Linked DNA regions of Homo sapiens: regions 1 and 2 are each linked to region 3. Evidence: promoter capture Hi-C in 16 types of primary human blood cells and fetal thymus (Javierre and others, 2016). All regions are on one chromosome and are shown on one strand. Each heading gives the region's core, a stretch centred on a gene start or on the middle of the fragment in contact. The rest is flanking DNA. Distances are from core to core; before and after follow the strand shown. Region 1 overlaps TRIM62 (tripartite motif containing 62). Region 2 overlaps TRIM62 (tripartite motif containing 62). Region 3 holds the start of ZNF362 (zinc finger protein 362).

The links. The method cuts DNA at HindIII sites, captures the fragments that hold promoters and counts their contacts. A CHiCAGO score of 5 or more calls a contact.
Region 1: a fragment that was not itself captured here is called in contact with the fragment with the promoter of ZNF362 in region 3 in 1 of 17 cell types (naive B cells); the score reaches 5.5 in naive B cells.
Region 2: a fragment that was not itself captured here is called in contact with the fragment with the promoter of ZNF362 in region 3 in 6 of 17 cell types (total CD8 T cells, total CD4 T cells, naive CD4 T cells and 3 more); the score reaches 6.8 in total CD8 T cells.

The regions. Positions count from the first base shown.
Region 1 is chr1:33,144,533-33,149,420 of GRCh38, forward strand. TRIM62 (tripartite motif containing 62) reads right to left here. Exons shown (of 5, transcript NM_018207.3): 5 at 867-3,195. The coding sequence ends at 2,645. It also overlaps a transcript of AZIN2 not described here and a transcript of ZNF362 not described here. Among named protein-coding and RNA genes, the nearest start is that of TRIM62, 35 kb to the right of the region's middle. The HindIII fragment of the contact is 2,733 bases long and covers 102-2,834 here.
Region 2 is chr1:33,175,551-33,180,117 of GRCh38, forward strand. All of the region lies in intron 1 of TRIM62 (tripartite motif containing 62), which reads right to left. It also overlaps a transcript of ZNF362 not described here. Among named protein-coding and RNA genes, the nearest start is that of TRIM62, 4.2 kb to the right of the region's middle. RefSeq lists an enhancer at 2,747-2,916 and a cis regulatory region at 2,832. The HindIII fragment of the contact is 3,860 bases long and covers 402-4,261 here.
Region 3 is chr1:33,253,865-33,258,472 of GRCh38, forward strand. It overlaps ZNF362 (zinc finger protein 362), which reads left to right and starts at 2,628. Exons shown (of 9, transcript NM_152493.3): 1 at 2,628-2,790. RefSeq lists silencers at 2,017-2,116, 2,559-2,618 and an enhancer at 3,084-3,378. The HindIII fragment of the contact is 6,922 bases long and covers 1-4,608 here.

The DNA of each region.
Region 1 (4,888 bases), core at 218-2,717, 110 kb before region 3:
GCCCGACTGATAGAACCTCTCTAAAGGGCCGCTGCTGGGCTCTAGGCCTGTCTATAGTACTCAGTAAGACTTCTAAGTAAAGTGAACTTTAATTCTTTAAAAGCTTGATATTTCTTCTTTAGTCGACAGTCTTTTCCACTTAAGTGTGCACAGCCTGTGTGTCCACATGCAGAGCCTGTCCTAACTCCCAGCCAGGATGCTTCCTCATCAGTCAGAGGTGGGATGGACCTCAGGATGGTCCTGGTCTAGGTGGTTCCATACCCGTCACAGCCCATAAGGAGAAAGACAGACTTCTTGGGTCAGAGCCAGCCCAGAGGTTCAGGAAACCCATACAGCTCCAGGCACTGACTCTGGGAGGCAGCTGGGGGGATAGGGTAGGGCCTCCTTAAGTGCACTGCACTTTACAGCTTACCAATAAATTATGTGAAATTGGTATCCTCATCTTCCATGTGGGAAAACTGAGTCCCAGAGAGGGTGGTCATTTTTCTAAAGTCACACAGTGATGGAGCCTGGATTTGAGCTGAGGTCTGTGTGGTTCCCGAGACCAGGCTCTTGCCACTGCCCCATGAGCTGCCTGCTGCCTGCTCCCAAGACTACCACCACCTCTCCTCCAGGTAAAGACTGACAGCCTTCCCTGGCTGGTAAGTTTTTGGACAGGTTTGTGGTGTGGCACTTGCCAGCATGGGATATGGGACCCCAGGTAAGTCTTGGCTTCTCTCTGAACCTCAATTTTCCTCCTCTGTAAAATGAGCATAATACCATTTACCCAGCCGGGCTGCTTTGTGGATTAGCTATGCTCATGTGTGTGCACTGCCTGGGACAGAGCTGGGTGGGCCTGTGTGTTTGTCAAAATGAATGGAACTGGCTACTGACATCTGTAACTTTAATTTAATACAAATTGATCATAACTCATAAAATGGGCAACATTTTAAATAAAAATACTGCTGGGGTGGCCCAGATTCTGGTAGTTGAAGGGTTGGGGTAGGGCTGACAATTCCTTTTGCCCAAGGGAGGCCCGGGTGGCGGGGGCAGCCATTTTAAGAACCCCCTGTGTTTAGCTCTTCCGGCTACTTTGGGATGGTGTGTTGTGTCAGAGACCCCAAGTGCAGAATCTAGGCCCCAGGACTAGAAAGAAAAGTCAAGGCCGGGGAGACATTTAGGCTCAGTCTTGCAGCCCACTCCTCCAGTTCCCACCTCTGGGCAGGGATAGAGCCAAGGGGCAGGACAACCCTAGATGTGGACTCCACCCTCTCCCGAGTTCTTCACGATTGGATGCTGTGGCAGAAAAACGCAGGTGGGGCTTGCTCCACCCACCCTAACTTCCTTCTAGGGAAATGACATTTCCCAGACTCCCTTGCAGCCAAGGTTCTGGATCTGACTTAAGTTCCCCCAAACAGAATCTCTTGTAAAAATTTAGATTTGGGAACTGAGTGAAGTGGGAGAGGGGCAGGCCTCAGGACATCTATTGGCTGGCACGGACCGTGGCAGAGGGAGCCTAGTTCTGCAGTCAGCAGCTTTCTGGCATAGTGGCTTCCTGCAGATGGGGGCAGCTTTCCTGGTCACAACAGACATGATGAATCTGGCGCTGGGAGTTCCTGGAAATTCAGCAGAGTCTGCTTCTCCAGCTCTTCCAACAATTTTGCAAGCCACCAGGGGCCAGGTAGTAAATCCTTGTCTAATTAAACCAGCTACAAGTGGCTCTTGTTTTCTGCAGCAGGATCCTAACTGAGATAGATGCCAAGTCTGACAAGGGGTCCAGCCAACAGCCCCTCCCAGTGCTTGGGTCCTAATTACAACAACTGCTTCTGGAAGCCTCCTGCACCCTAGCAGGTCACAGAGGCCTGGCTGAAGAGGGTTGGCTGGACTCTTGTTCAGAGCTACTGGGGACCTCGATCATCCAGGGAGGCTTGTCCTGCAGTTGCTTTTAGGCTAATGGGCTCTGCATCAGCTTTGGGTATACCCTCACCCTGTCCCTCGGCCTGTGGGCAGGAAGGTGGTGGCACATGACTATAATGTGTGGACTCAACTACCAGGTGCCTTCCACAGGCCACAGCATCATCACTGACCAGCAGATCAGTGGGAGAAGTAGGAACCATATAGTTCTTGGTGTGGGGGTGGCAGGAGAGGTTGGCTCTCAGGCAACCCTAGGACCAGGTACTACCTGTGACCACTGTGGACTGGGGTCAAGGGTAAATGGCCCATCACTAGCTTGGTCAGGGGTAAGTCTTAGGCCATGGGACATAAGAGGGTGCTGTGTGTCTTTCGGGCTGCCAACTACTGGCCATGCTCTGACACTTCCTGAGGTCAGGGCTGGGCTGGAGGGAGACACTGGAAGGTAGTCCCCTGCCCCTGAGAAGATGGGGATGAGGGTTGGGCAGGGGTTGCCCTGAGGAGAAGCCATGTCACATCCTTGGATCAAAGCTGTATCCCTATCAAGGTCAGAGCTACAGAACATCGATGCTGGAAGAGAGTTTAGGAAGTAGGGAATGCAACCTCCATTTTACAGACTGGAGGCTGGAGGGTAAACAACTGGCCTGAGGTCTCCAGTGGCCACGGTGGGCTGGAGTCCAGGTCTTCTATCTCCTGGGCAGGGCTCTTGCAGGTGGCAGTGGTCCCAGGAGGTTGTGGTCTCCTTCTGCCTGGACTAGATGCGGACGGTGTTGATCCGCAGCGGCTGAACGTTCTTGCCATTGGCGTGGCTCTGGCCAGGGCTGAAGTAAGAGCAGAGCTTGCCAGGGAACTTCTCGCGGAAGGTGTAGAGCCAGGACATGTCATCAGCATTGTAGAAGATGAGCAAGCCTTGGTCATAGTCCAGGAAGACACCCACCTTGTCAAGCTTGTCCCGGACGTTAAGCCGCGTCCAGGGCTCCGTGCAGGCGCTGTACTGGTTGCCATCGTGCATCACGATGCAGTAGAAGCCGCGGCTGGGCTGGATCTGGATGCTGCCCTTGCGGCTTGCGGCTTCGTGTGCCAGCCCGATCACCCACTGGGTCTTCTCCGCCACCACCACCTCCCAGTAGTGGACGCCACTACTGAAGGCTTCAGAACCCAGCACCGACACCTCCACATCGAAGCGCTTTGGCGAGTCCTGCAGTGGCTGTGGGTGCAAGTTGCCGTAAGCCACAATGGTGCAGTCGTCCGACAGGATCAGGCGCTGGTGGGCTGTGCCCGGGTCCAGGGTTAGGGCGGCTGGCACTGTGGGGGTTGGAGGAGGGAGAGAAGATGAGTGGGGAGAAGGCTGTGGACCCACCATGCAGTGCCTTCCTGAGGGCAGAGTTCTGGTTGGTACGCAGGAGGCCTCTGACCTGCTGTGTGACCTTGAATACAAGTCTGCCCTCTCTGGGCCTCATCTTCCTCCTCTGTAGAATGGAAGGGTGGTGGTTAAGGTCCTTCCAGATATTGTCTGCAGGGGAGCAGGGGCTACAGCTGCTTGTTCACTGCCTGATGCCCAGGGCGGAGCACATAGTGGGCACTGGCAAATGTTTGTTGAATTAACCAGAATGAGGCCTAGAATTGGGGAATTTTAGAGCTGGAAGGGAGCTTCCAGATGATCCAGTTGCTACTGCCCCCTAGGGGGAATGGGGAAATTGGTGAGTGTGTTCAGGTTGTCTTAACAACAGCTGGGATCCAGGGATGCTAAAGACCACGAAATGGACAGGACAGTTCTGCAAAGGGAAGTTCTGCCCCACACCTTCCCCGACTCCCAGTGATTTTCACGTGTCCCAGCAGACATTCATGTGGATGAAAAATCTTTTTTATAAGGATAAGAAACTATAACCTAACTCCATTTCATGTATAAACATGAAATTTTTTTTGCAGTTTTAATATATACTGAATATTTCAGAATGCAACCACTGTGTAAATGAAGGGAAGGCTGCATTTGTTTTGTTTGGAACTTCCCTAAGAACTGTTTGCTTTGTTGGAAAATACATCCCTAAGGGCAACACCACTGACTGAGACAACCTACCTGTATAGGCATTTGAGGCAGGATGGTGTTTTACCTATGACGAGAGGACCTGGCTGCTTTGTTAGGTTTTCTAGTGTGATTGTGGGTGAGCATCTACATGTTGACATACAAAATATTTTATTATTAATAATTTCCTTCTATTTTCCTTCATATTAATAGTCAGAGTATGTATCTATGTACATATACACACACAACACTTGAAATTGTGAAAAGGTTACACTTGAAATTATAAAAAGGTTATATTATCTTTGAGATATTACACATGATTTGTTATGAAAAGTAGACAATGGGTCTGAAAAGATTGAAAACCATGAATTCTAGGCCAACTCTTCCATTTGACAGATGAGGAAACTGAGACCCAGAGGGGAGACATGACAAACTTAGGTCATCCTGCAAATATTGGCAGAGCCAGGACTAACCAAGGTCGTCTGCAATCTAGCGCCAGTCCTTTCTCCCAGCCAACCTCTCACTTCTGCCCCCTACCCCACTTAGGTCCAAAGCCTCTGCTTACACGGTTCCCTCCACCTCCTCCTCTCTGCTTGTTGCAACCACCCCCAGAGGCTCAATTCAAAAGGCCCACCCTTTGGGAAGCCTTCCTGGTCACCCAGCAGATGTGCTCGTTCTGTCCTCTGAAATTCCTTTTGCCTCTTCTTTTTCTTATTTATTTATTGGAGACAGAGTCTTGCTTTATCCCCCAGGCGGGAATGCAGTGGCATGATCTTGGCCCACTGCAACCTCCACCTCCCAGGTTCAAGTGATTCTCATGCCTCAGCCTCTCGAGTAGTTGGGATTATAGGCACGCGCCACCACGCCTGGCTAATTTTTTGTATTTTTAGTAGAGACAGGGTTTCGTCATGTTGGCCAGGCTGGTCTTGAACTCCTGGCCTCAAGTGATCTGCCCACCTCGGCCTCCCAAAGTTC
Region 2 (4,567 bases), core at 1,082-3,581, 79 kb before region 3:
GGTTTCTCAGGTTCCTCCCCATTTGGTGCTCCCTGGGACAGTTGGCGTGTTGGGAAGGAGGGTGAATTCTGAGTCAGAAAGACCACTTTGAATCTCAGCTCTTCCTCCTACTTGCAGTGTGATCTTGGGAAGGTTACTGAATCTCTCAGCCTCATTTTCTTCATCTGTGAGATGGTACTGATCTCAGTCCCACTCAGGGAGTAGGGAACGAAAAAATCCTTGTGAGAATCAAATGCCTATAACACAGCACCTGGCACACAGTAAGTGCCCCATAACTTACTTTGTGCCTCCAAAACTTGGGCTATAATTTTATAGAGTCATTGTTTCATCATTGTTAGTCCCTACCAGGTCTTTTTTCTTTCTATAAAATAAACATCTTGGGGTCCCCAATGTTGGCCCTAAGCTTCTACACTGTGGCCCGTGCTCAGCAAAGGTATCCTGGCTGCCCAGACACCTGTGAAGAGGGATGTGGAGATGCCAGCGGCCAGCTCTGAGTTTGACCCACAGCCAGCTTTGCCCTCACAGAGGCTGCTGTTGGCATAGAAATCCTGCCCTCTCCTTGGAAAAGTAACAGCAGAGCCACTTCCCCACAACACAGACAACCCAGCTGCCTTCCTGTCCATGCTACAAAATAAAGTGCCTCTGAATCTCTCATTTCTTTGGATATTTAGCAACTCTTTCTCTCTCTTTATACAGAAAGCAGGAGGGCTAGTTCTTACTTCCATTTCTCAGATTGGGTAAGAGGGTGTCACCCCCTCTCCTGGAAGAAACCAGAGCCGAAATTTGAACCTAGCCCCCAGCCCCCTCCCTCCTTGGGTGGCTGCCTTGGTGTCACTGGATCACCATACCCTGCCTACCAGGGCTTGCGTCCAAGGCTGATCCACTGCTGTCTTCTCTGGCATGAAGGAAGCCTTGGGAAGGGCTCCAATGGTCACATGAGGCCTGGAGGGGGCGGCTGAGACTGAATCGGATCCCCTCTCTGGGGGTTAGGAACCTGAGACGGCCAGAGAGCCGGATGCCACGTCTGCTCTGACCAAGATGACGTCCCAACCACCTGCCCTCGGGGCGTCAGCTGGCACAGATGGCCTAGCCCTGTCAATACAGGACAGGCAGGGTGGCTGGGAGACAATTACCCAGCCCTCAGAGGTAGCTCAGGGACGGTATGTGGCCTAGTCAGACTGGCTTCCAATCCTGGCCCTGCCATTTACCAGCTGCGTGACCAAATGAGTCACTTAATTCCTCTGAGTCTGTTTCTTCATCAGTAGAAGAAATAGATAACAATACCCATCCCACAGGGTGCTATGAAGATTAAATGAGGTAATGCAAGAAAAGCCCTTAGTGCAGTCCCAGGCATTCAGACTGGGCTCGATGAATATTGGCTGAGAAGCCCTGAACTCTTTGGAAATGGGCTCCTTCCCTCCACTTTGCTCAGTGGTCCAGGTACTCAGCAGTGGAGGTGGGGAGGAAGACACCAACACACATACACATGCACACACACACGCACACACACACACATGCACACACACACATGCATGCACAAATGCACACACATGCACACACACATGCATGTACGCATGCACACACACGCACATGCACACCCACAGGTTACATAAAAATCCTTAGAACTGTATAGTAACTCCTGCCATGTTTCATGGGGTATTATTATGGGGGGACTTTAACTTTTACATTATACAGCTCTGCTTCTTATGTTAATTTTATAATCAGAATAAAGACATTTAAAAATAGTTTTGGGGTGCCTACTATGCCAGGCACAGTACTAGGCACTTCTGATAAAGGATCCCTAACCCTTACAACATCCTTCCCAGGAACATCATATCCTCTTGTTATAGATGAACCTTAGAGAAGGAGCCTTAGAGAAGCAAAGTGACGTGACCAAGGACACACAGCATGTCAGGATCTGACCCCTGTGATGTAATCTGGAGTACAAAGCAATTGTGCTTAGTAGGTCAGGGAAGGCTTCACAGAGGAGGTGATATTTGACCTGAAGTTTTAAAGTTCAGTGGGACTTTTCTAGGTCAGGTTTCTCAACTAGAGGTGATTTTGACTCTAGGAGACATTTGTCAATGCTTGGAGATGGTTTTGATTGTCACAACTTGCGGGGTGGGTGGAGTTTGCTACTGGCATCTAATGGGTAGAGGCCAGGAATGCTACCAGACTTCCTATAACACACAAGATGGCCCTGCACAACAGTTATCTAGCCCCAAATGTCAATAATGCCGAGTACGATGTAACCTACTATAGCTGTCATTTATTGAGTGCTGTTAGGTGCCAAGTGCAGTACTAAGTTTTTATAAACATCATCTTGTTTAATCCTAATATAATTACTTCCATGCTGTCCATGAAGGACCCAAGGCTCAGAGATGGTAAATAATCTTCCCAAAGTCACACAGTAAATGGTAGAGCCAGGATTGAGATTACCTGGGTACAAAGCAGGGCTCTTAATTTCTCTGCTCTGATGCCTCAAGGATTTATAATAAATGTAAAAGCTGCACGCCAACTGCTAGGTAGGGTGTTGGGAGACTCCAGCTGAGTATAGGCCCAGCTTCCTCTGGCTTCGAGGCCTTAGGCAAGTTCCCTTCCTCCCTCTCCCTCTCCTGTTTCCCCATCTGTCAAGTGGATGTGGCACCAGATCATCTGCATGGCTCTGAGTCTGTAATTCTGCAGAAGGGCCCCAGCTCCATCAGCTGCTGGGAGAGAAGGGGATGTGAGGGTGGGTTCAGCCTTATTTCTGCTGCATAAATAGCTAATAAGCCTTGCCTTCCCCATATGGAGGGAGAGGCAGGTGGGGTGGAGGGTGCCTTGAATCTCACCCAGCAGCACATCCTCTCTAGATGGGAGGCAGATTTCTCTGCCACCAAATTGCCAAGCCCAGAGGACACACTAAAGCAAGGCCTCCTTCTCGGGCCAGAGAGGAGAGTCTGGGCATTCACTCAGCTGGGCACATGAGCTCTCACAGGCAGAAAGAGAAAAGGTGGGCTGTATGTTATTCCAGCCCGTACTGTGTGCCTTTGAACCTCAAATAGCAGGTTAATCCCAGGTCAGCTTCACAAAAGTCCTGGTAGGAAGGAAGCATCCTGACCCCATTGTACAGACAGAGCATCAGCGTTTACATGAAGTGACTCACCAAGGTGCACACAGTGCCCACAGCAGGTTTGGAACCCAAGTATGTCCAACCCCACAACAGTGCACTAGAGAGTAAGCAAGTGGCAGTCCTGTTTTACTTTTCACCCAATAATGAAGCATTTCAATAATATTTGTAGGTAATACATGTTCAATTTCTCCTGTGTCCCCCAGGTCATGGGATAGAGTACAGAAGCCCAACATACAGTAATTTGGATTTCCTGGTTTGCAGACAGGAGAACCAAGGCTCTGAAGCAGAGGCTAGAAGGTCAGACAAGGAGGGGAGAGATCAGAGAAGAGGGATCTGGGTCAGGCTGTGCCCTATAGCCCTGGCTCTCTCACTGTCTGGAAGTGTGGCCTTGGGCAAGTCACATAACTTCTCCAGGCCTCACTTTCCATTCCTACATGATGAAGAGGTTGGACAGATGGTTTCAGACAGAGTCCCCTCAAACTCTTCCTGCTTATGTGACTCCATAGACGGGGAGATGGACAGCAGCAGCGCCTAAAACGATGGCTCTGGGGGTGGAGGGCCAAGCCTTGTGCAGGCTCCCAGAGGCCCAGGCCCTTGCTCACCCTCTGATGGGGCCTTCATCCTCAGACAGCTAGACTGGAAGGGAGTCAGTTGTAGTTTTGAGATAAAAGGGACAGGGAAGGAGCGATGGTGAACATGGGCCATTTCTCCTGAGGCCCATGGGCATCTGCTGGGTGCAGGCCTACTCAAAGACTAGTGTGTGGAGGGGTTGGGAGCCCCTACAATACAGGGGAAAGTAATTATTTAGTTTCTGTTTGAGTATCTCGAGGCCAGAGAGCTCATTACCTCCCAAGTTAGCCCACTCCATTTTCATAAAATGTTTGAGCCAAAAACCTTCTGCTTCCAAACGCTCCACAGTGTGGTCCAGCTTAGGCCAGGGTTGGTCATTCTTTCGTTCATTCATTTGGCCTTTATTGGTGTGTACTGTGGGCCAGGCCTTGCACCAGGCTTTGGGGCCATAGATAGGAGAAATAAGATTCTGTCTCTGGCCTTGGAGAACTACGTGCTCGACTAGTATCCCAAAGCCAGGTACATGGGGCTGCTGGATTTAAGTGATTTAGCTTGAAAAAAGGATTCCAGGCCCAAGTAAGCTTGGGAACCATTTTATTAAACACAGTAAAATAGATTTATTTGCAACAAAATTTCTCTAAGCTTTTAATATGCAAATGCACACTGAAAATTCTCCAAGGGGGTGGGTATAAAAAATATACTATATTTCCCACACTTATTAATAGAGAGCATTTGGGGAAATGCAGTTCTAATGTTTTTGTTTGTTTGTTTGTTTGTTTGACCAGTGGAACTTGGAGAAGGCTTCACGGAGAGGATATTTGAGCAAGGCTCAATAAAAGTTGAGTAGGAGTTTGTCAGTGAAGACAGGAAGTCTTAAGGGAGACC
Region 3 (4,608 bases), core at 1,378-3,877:
ATTAAAGGTATTAATTTTAAAATTTATAGACTTTATGTTTTAGAACATTTTTAGATTTATAGAAAAATTGAGATGATATTACAGACAGTTCCCATATATACCTCCTCTAATTTTCCTATGAGTAATACCTTATGTTACTATTTGTTACGATTTGTTATAATTCTTGGTAGATACTTTCCTTGACACATTATTGTTATTAATAACTAAATTCCATAGTTTATTTAGATTGTTTTTACCTAATATCTTTTACATTTAGTAGTTCGTCTGTTTTTTTTTTTTGAGACAGAGTTTCACTCTTGTTGCCCAGGCTGGAGTGCAGTGGCCCAATCTCGGCTCACTGCAACTTCCACCTCTGGAGTTCAAGCCATTCTTCTGCCTCAGACTCCTGAGTAGCTGAGACTACAGGCACGTGCCACGCCTGGCTAATTTTTGTATTTTTAGTAGAGATGGGGTTTCACCACGTTGGTCAGGCTGGTCTTAAAGTCTGACCTGGTGATCCTCCCGCCTCGGCCTCCCAAAGTGCTGGAATTACAGGCATAAGCCACTGCACCCGGCCGTGTCTTTAGGCTCCTCTCTGGCTGTGATGGTTTCTCGGACTTTCCTTGATTTGGATGACCTTGATAGTTTTGAGGGGTACTGGTCAGCCAGCAATTTTGTTGGATAGCCCACTCTTGGAGTCTGTCTGTTTTTCTCACAAGGCTGGGGTTATGGGTTATTGGGAGGAAGACCACAAAGGTAAAGTGTCATTTTCATCACATAGTATCAAGCACATATCAACATGATTTGTGGCTGTTGATCTTGGCCTTGATCACTTGTCTGAGTAGCAGTCATCAGCTCTCTCCCTGTAAAGTTACTCCTTTCCTCTCCCTTTCCATATTGTGCGCTTGGGGAGGACGTCACTATCTGCAGCCTACTCCTAAAGAGTAGGGAGTGATGCTCCCCCTCCCTGATTGTCTACATAAATTATTTGGAATTCTTCTGCACAGACAATTTGTCTCTTCTCTCCCGTTTATTAATTTATTATCTCATTGAATTTCTCAACAATGGGTTGGTCCTCTGATTATCGTCATTTCTGGAAACTGGAAGGCCTTCCTTTCTTCCCCACCTCGCTCACCCCAGAGCCAATTTCTGAAGCCCTCTCCACCTCTCCAGGAAAGAGTGGCCTCCTCTGTGCTCTCCCGCCATGCTTTAACATTCCAACTAATTCATGCCACACAGATTTCTTGTGCCCCTGCTCTGTGCCAGGCACTGTGCTTGGGGATTGAGAACAAGCAGTCCCTATGGGCCCTGTCTTCGAGTTGCTCACAGTGTTTGCCATCCTGTGCTGGACTAGAATCTTCGTGAGGGCAGGGGCATTATCCAGTTTTTTAATAGCTGTGCTCCAGCCAACCAGCTATTAAAAACAGTGGTTGATGTTTACTAGGTCCTCTATGAATATTTACTGAATTTGGAAATGCTTCCTGGAGGACAAACGCTGGCAGATGATTGTTTATCTCTGTGCCCTTCCCGGGGGACTGTGCGCTCCCTGAGGGCAGGGCCAGCCCTGATCCATCCTGGCCCAGCGGTCGGGGGGTGGTGGATGCCATAGAAATCTAAGCCGGTGAAGGGATCCTGGAACCGGCTGCCTCCTCAGGTAGAAGTGTAAGTTTGGAAGCTGACACAGCTCGGGAGGCCGAATCAGGAGGACTTGGTGACTGATTGGCTGGGGAGGGTGAGGCGGGAGGAGGAGTCACACAGATGGCTCTGAGGTCTGGAGCCGGGGGACAGCCGGTGCCACCTCTGATAGACTCTGCGAGAGGAGCCACTGCCAGCTTCGGGCCGCCCCATCCGTCGGGGATCCGGCCTAGGGCTAGGGAGGGGTGGCTGGGCCTGTGCAAACTTCTACTCCCCACCCCTATGTCCTCGTCTTAAAAAAAAAATCGGCCTGGATTTTGAGCAGGTCGTTATCAGGGGTGAGGGTCCATCCTGGGGGTCCCCTCCAGGCGGCCGTCTTCGAGGGAGACCCCCAGGGGCAGCCTGGCACCGCGCGGGCTCGGCCTGGTCAGGGCCGTGGCCCGCCAGGCCCAAGTCCCCAGCCTGCCATCACCCAGGAGTGGGGTGGCGAGGCGGCCGCCGGGCCTGGGCAGGACAATGGCCACGGCCGCCGGGGCCCCGGGAGCCCCCGCGCTGGGGAAGGGGCTGTCCTAGGGCCGGGCGCCGGTGCCCTCCCCGCGCGGCTCAGGCGGGCGGAGGGGGGCGAGGAGTTCCTTTGTGGCTCTGCCTCCGGCGCGGCGCGGGCGGGGGGCGCAGCGCAACTTTGCCAGGCGGTGGCGGCGGCGGCGGCGGCGGCGACGGCGAGCGCGAGACGAGGCCCCGGGGCCCGAGTGGGGGCCCCAGCGCGCGGCCCGCCCCCGCCCCCCGCCCGGCCCCCTCCCCTCTCGCGCAGTCGCCAGCGCCCGGCGCTGCCCACTCGCGGGAGCCCCCGGGGCCGGACGGGCTGCGCAGCCGGAGAGGCGGGGGCCCGACGCGGCCCCCCCGGAGCCGGGCGCCTGGCGCGGGGGCTCGCCGAGCGCACTGGGGGCCGCGCGGCGCTGCAGACCCAGCCTCCCGCCGCCGCCGCCGCCGCCGCCTCGGCGCTTGCAGAACCCAGAAGTGAACAGCAGGCGACCCGGAAGGTTTGCGCGCGGCTCCGCAGCGAGCCAGAGCCGGAGCCCGAGCCCGGAGCCTGTGCCGGAGCCCCAGCCCGGCCCTGCTCGGGCCGCCGGGCGCGGGGCTGCGGCCGCGTCCCGGAGGCGCCGCCAGCACAGCCAGGTCCGTGCGGGCCCGGGGCGCGCGGGGAGCGGGCCCAGCGGCGGCGGGCGCCTGCCCGCGGGAAAGTTGCGCCGAGTTGCGGGCGGGGGCCGGGCCGGGGCGCGGGCGCTGTCAGCGCGGGCCGGGGCGCTCCGAGGGCCCGGGGCCGCCTGCGCCTCGGGCCCGGCCCAGAGCGGCGGCGGCGGCGGCGGCAGCGGGGCGCGCGGGGTAGGAAGTGTCTCCCGCGGCGTGTCTGGGGCTGGTCTCCGAGTGTGTGTGCGTGTGTGTGTGTGCGCGCGCGTGTGTGTGTGTTTTCTTAAGCCGGGCTATTCAAACCCTGCTGCAATTCTCCGGTAAACAATGATTCATGGGGCATAATGCAAATAAACGGATTGCAAACGGCGCGGTTCGCGCACTTTGCAGCCGGCCCGGTGGAGCAGCCAGTGCCGGATTTCTCCCTTTTTTTGCAGATCTGCAGAATATGGCGTCCCTGTCCTGTTTTAAAAATAAGCCAGGCTGCCATTTTTGTTTTTCTTTTGTCTGAAAATTTTAATAAAACTGTCTGAGAATGTGGGAGAGGCGGCTGGAAGCAGAGGGGGCACCCGAAGGGTTGGCTTTTTTCCTTTTCTTTGGCGAGAGCCGCGAGCCTTTCGGGGAGGTGAGACACAATGCAATTGCACTTTAAAGAAAAAAAAAAAGGGAAGCTGCCGGGCGATTTGAGGGGGGAGGGCTGGGAATTTAAAGTTAACTCCGAAAGTTTGCTTTGCTTTGCTTCTCTTTCTTTCTTTCTTTCTTTTTTTTTTTTTTTGGAAGGCGGTGAAATGCCGCGAAAGGATCTCGAGGCCCATTTCTCCCCCAGCCAGCTGCCTTTGCAGGATTTTTGGGAAAAGTTAACTGCCGGTTTCCTCAGAGCTGCGCGGGATGGGGGTGGGGGGGCGGATGTGGAGGGTTGAGGATGGGAGTTTTGGGGGAACTGGGAAACATTTATTTGGAAGGGGCTCTATAAACATGGCATTGTAAGGAGCTAGATCCTCAGATCTGGGGGAGAGGGCCGGCAAGAGGGGCTCAGAATGGGTCCAGGATTTCCAGCAAAGACCCCTGGCATGAGGAAATAATCCTGCTGTCCCACCACCCTGCCCTCGAGCAGTGTGGAACCTTCGGGAGCTGTGTGTGTGGCAGTGGGCCTGTCTCCTTCATGGGTGGCCAGGACCCCCCGTGTAGGCTGGAATCTCGCCCAAGCCCTGGGGTGACCCTTGGACCCTGAGGCAAGTGAGCTTGGCCCTTTGCAGTTGGAGAGCCCCCTCCCCAACCTGGTGGTCCTCCTGCCCCCAGAGGTGGCAGCTGGTGGTAATGTCTTCCCCGACCCCACCCTATGATGAACTTTTGGTTGGGTGCAGGCCTGCGGCCCAGTGGGTCCCGTCTGAGGGAAGGGGCAGGAAAGGTAGTCTGGTTTGCTAGACCTCCTCGGTGTGAGCCTCACCCCTGTAGTATGCTCTTATTCCTTTCTGCCACTCCTGCCCTACGCCCGGGAGGTAGAAGCACTTTGGACTTCGGTTAAGTTCCTGAAGTATCTTGCTGGACAGGTCAGGGCCTGCTGGCTCCGCAGGCTGCCGAGGGGGATCTGAAGGCCAGGCCCACAAGGTCTGGGGTGACTGGTGCTGTCCAAGGCACTGGGGCAGTGTTGGGCCTAGCCTCTCATGTGTCCCCTACCCCAGCATTTCTTGGAGGGGAGACCCTTCTAGTCTCACTCCTGGTTTGTGTCCTGGCTCCACTAGACAGAGTGAGCTCCCAGAAGCCAGAGTCGGGGGTTGAAAGCTGGGGTTAGGGGTTCAGGGCTGT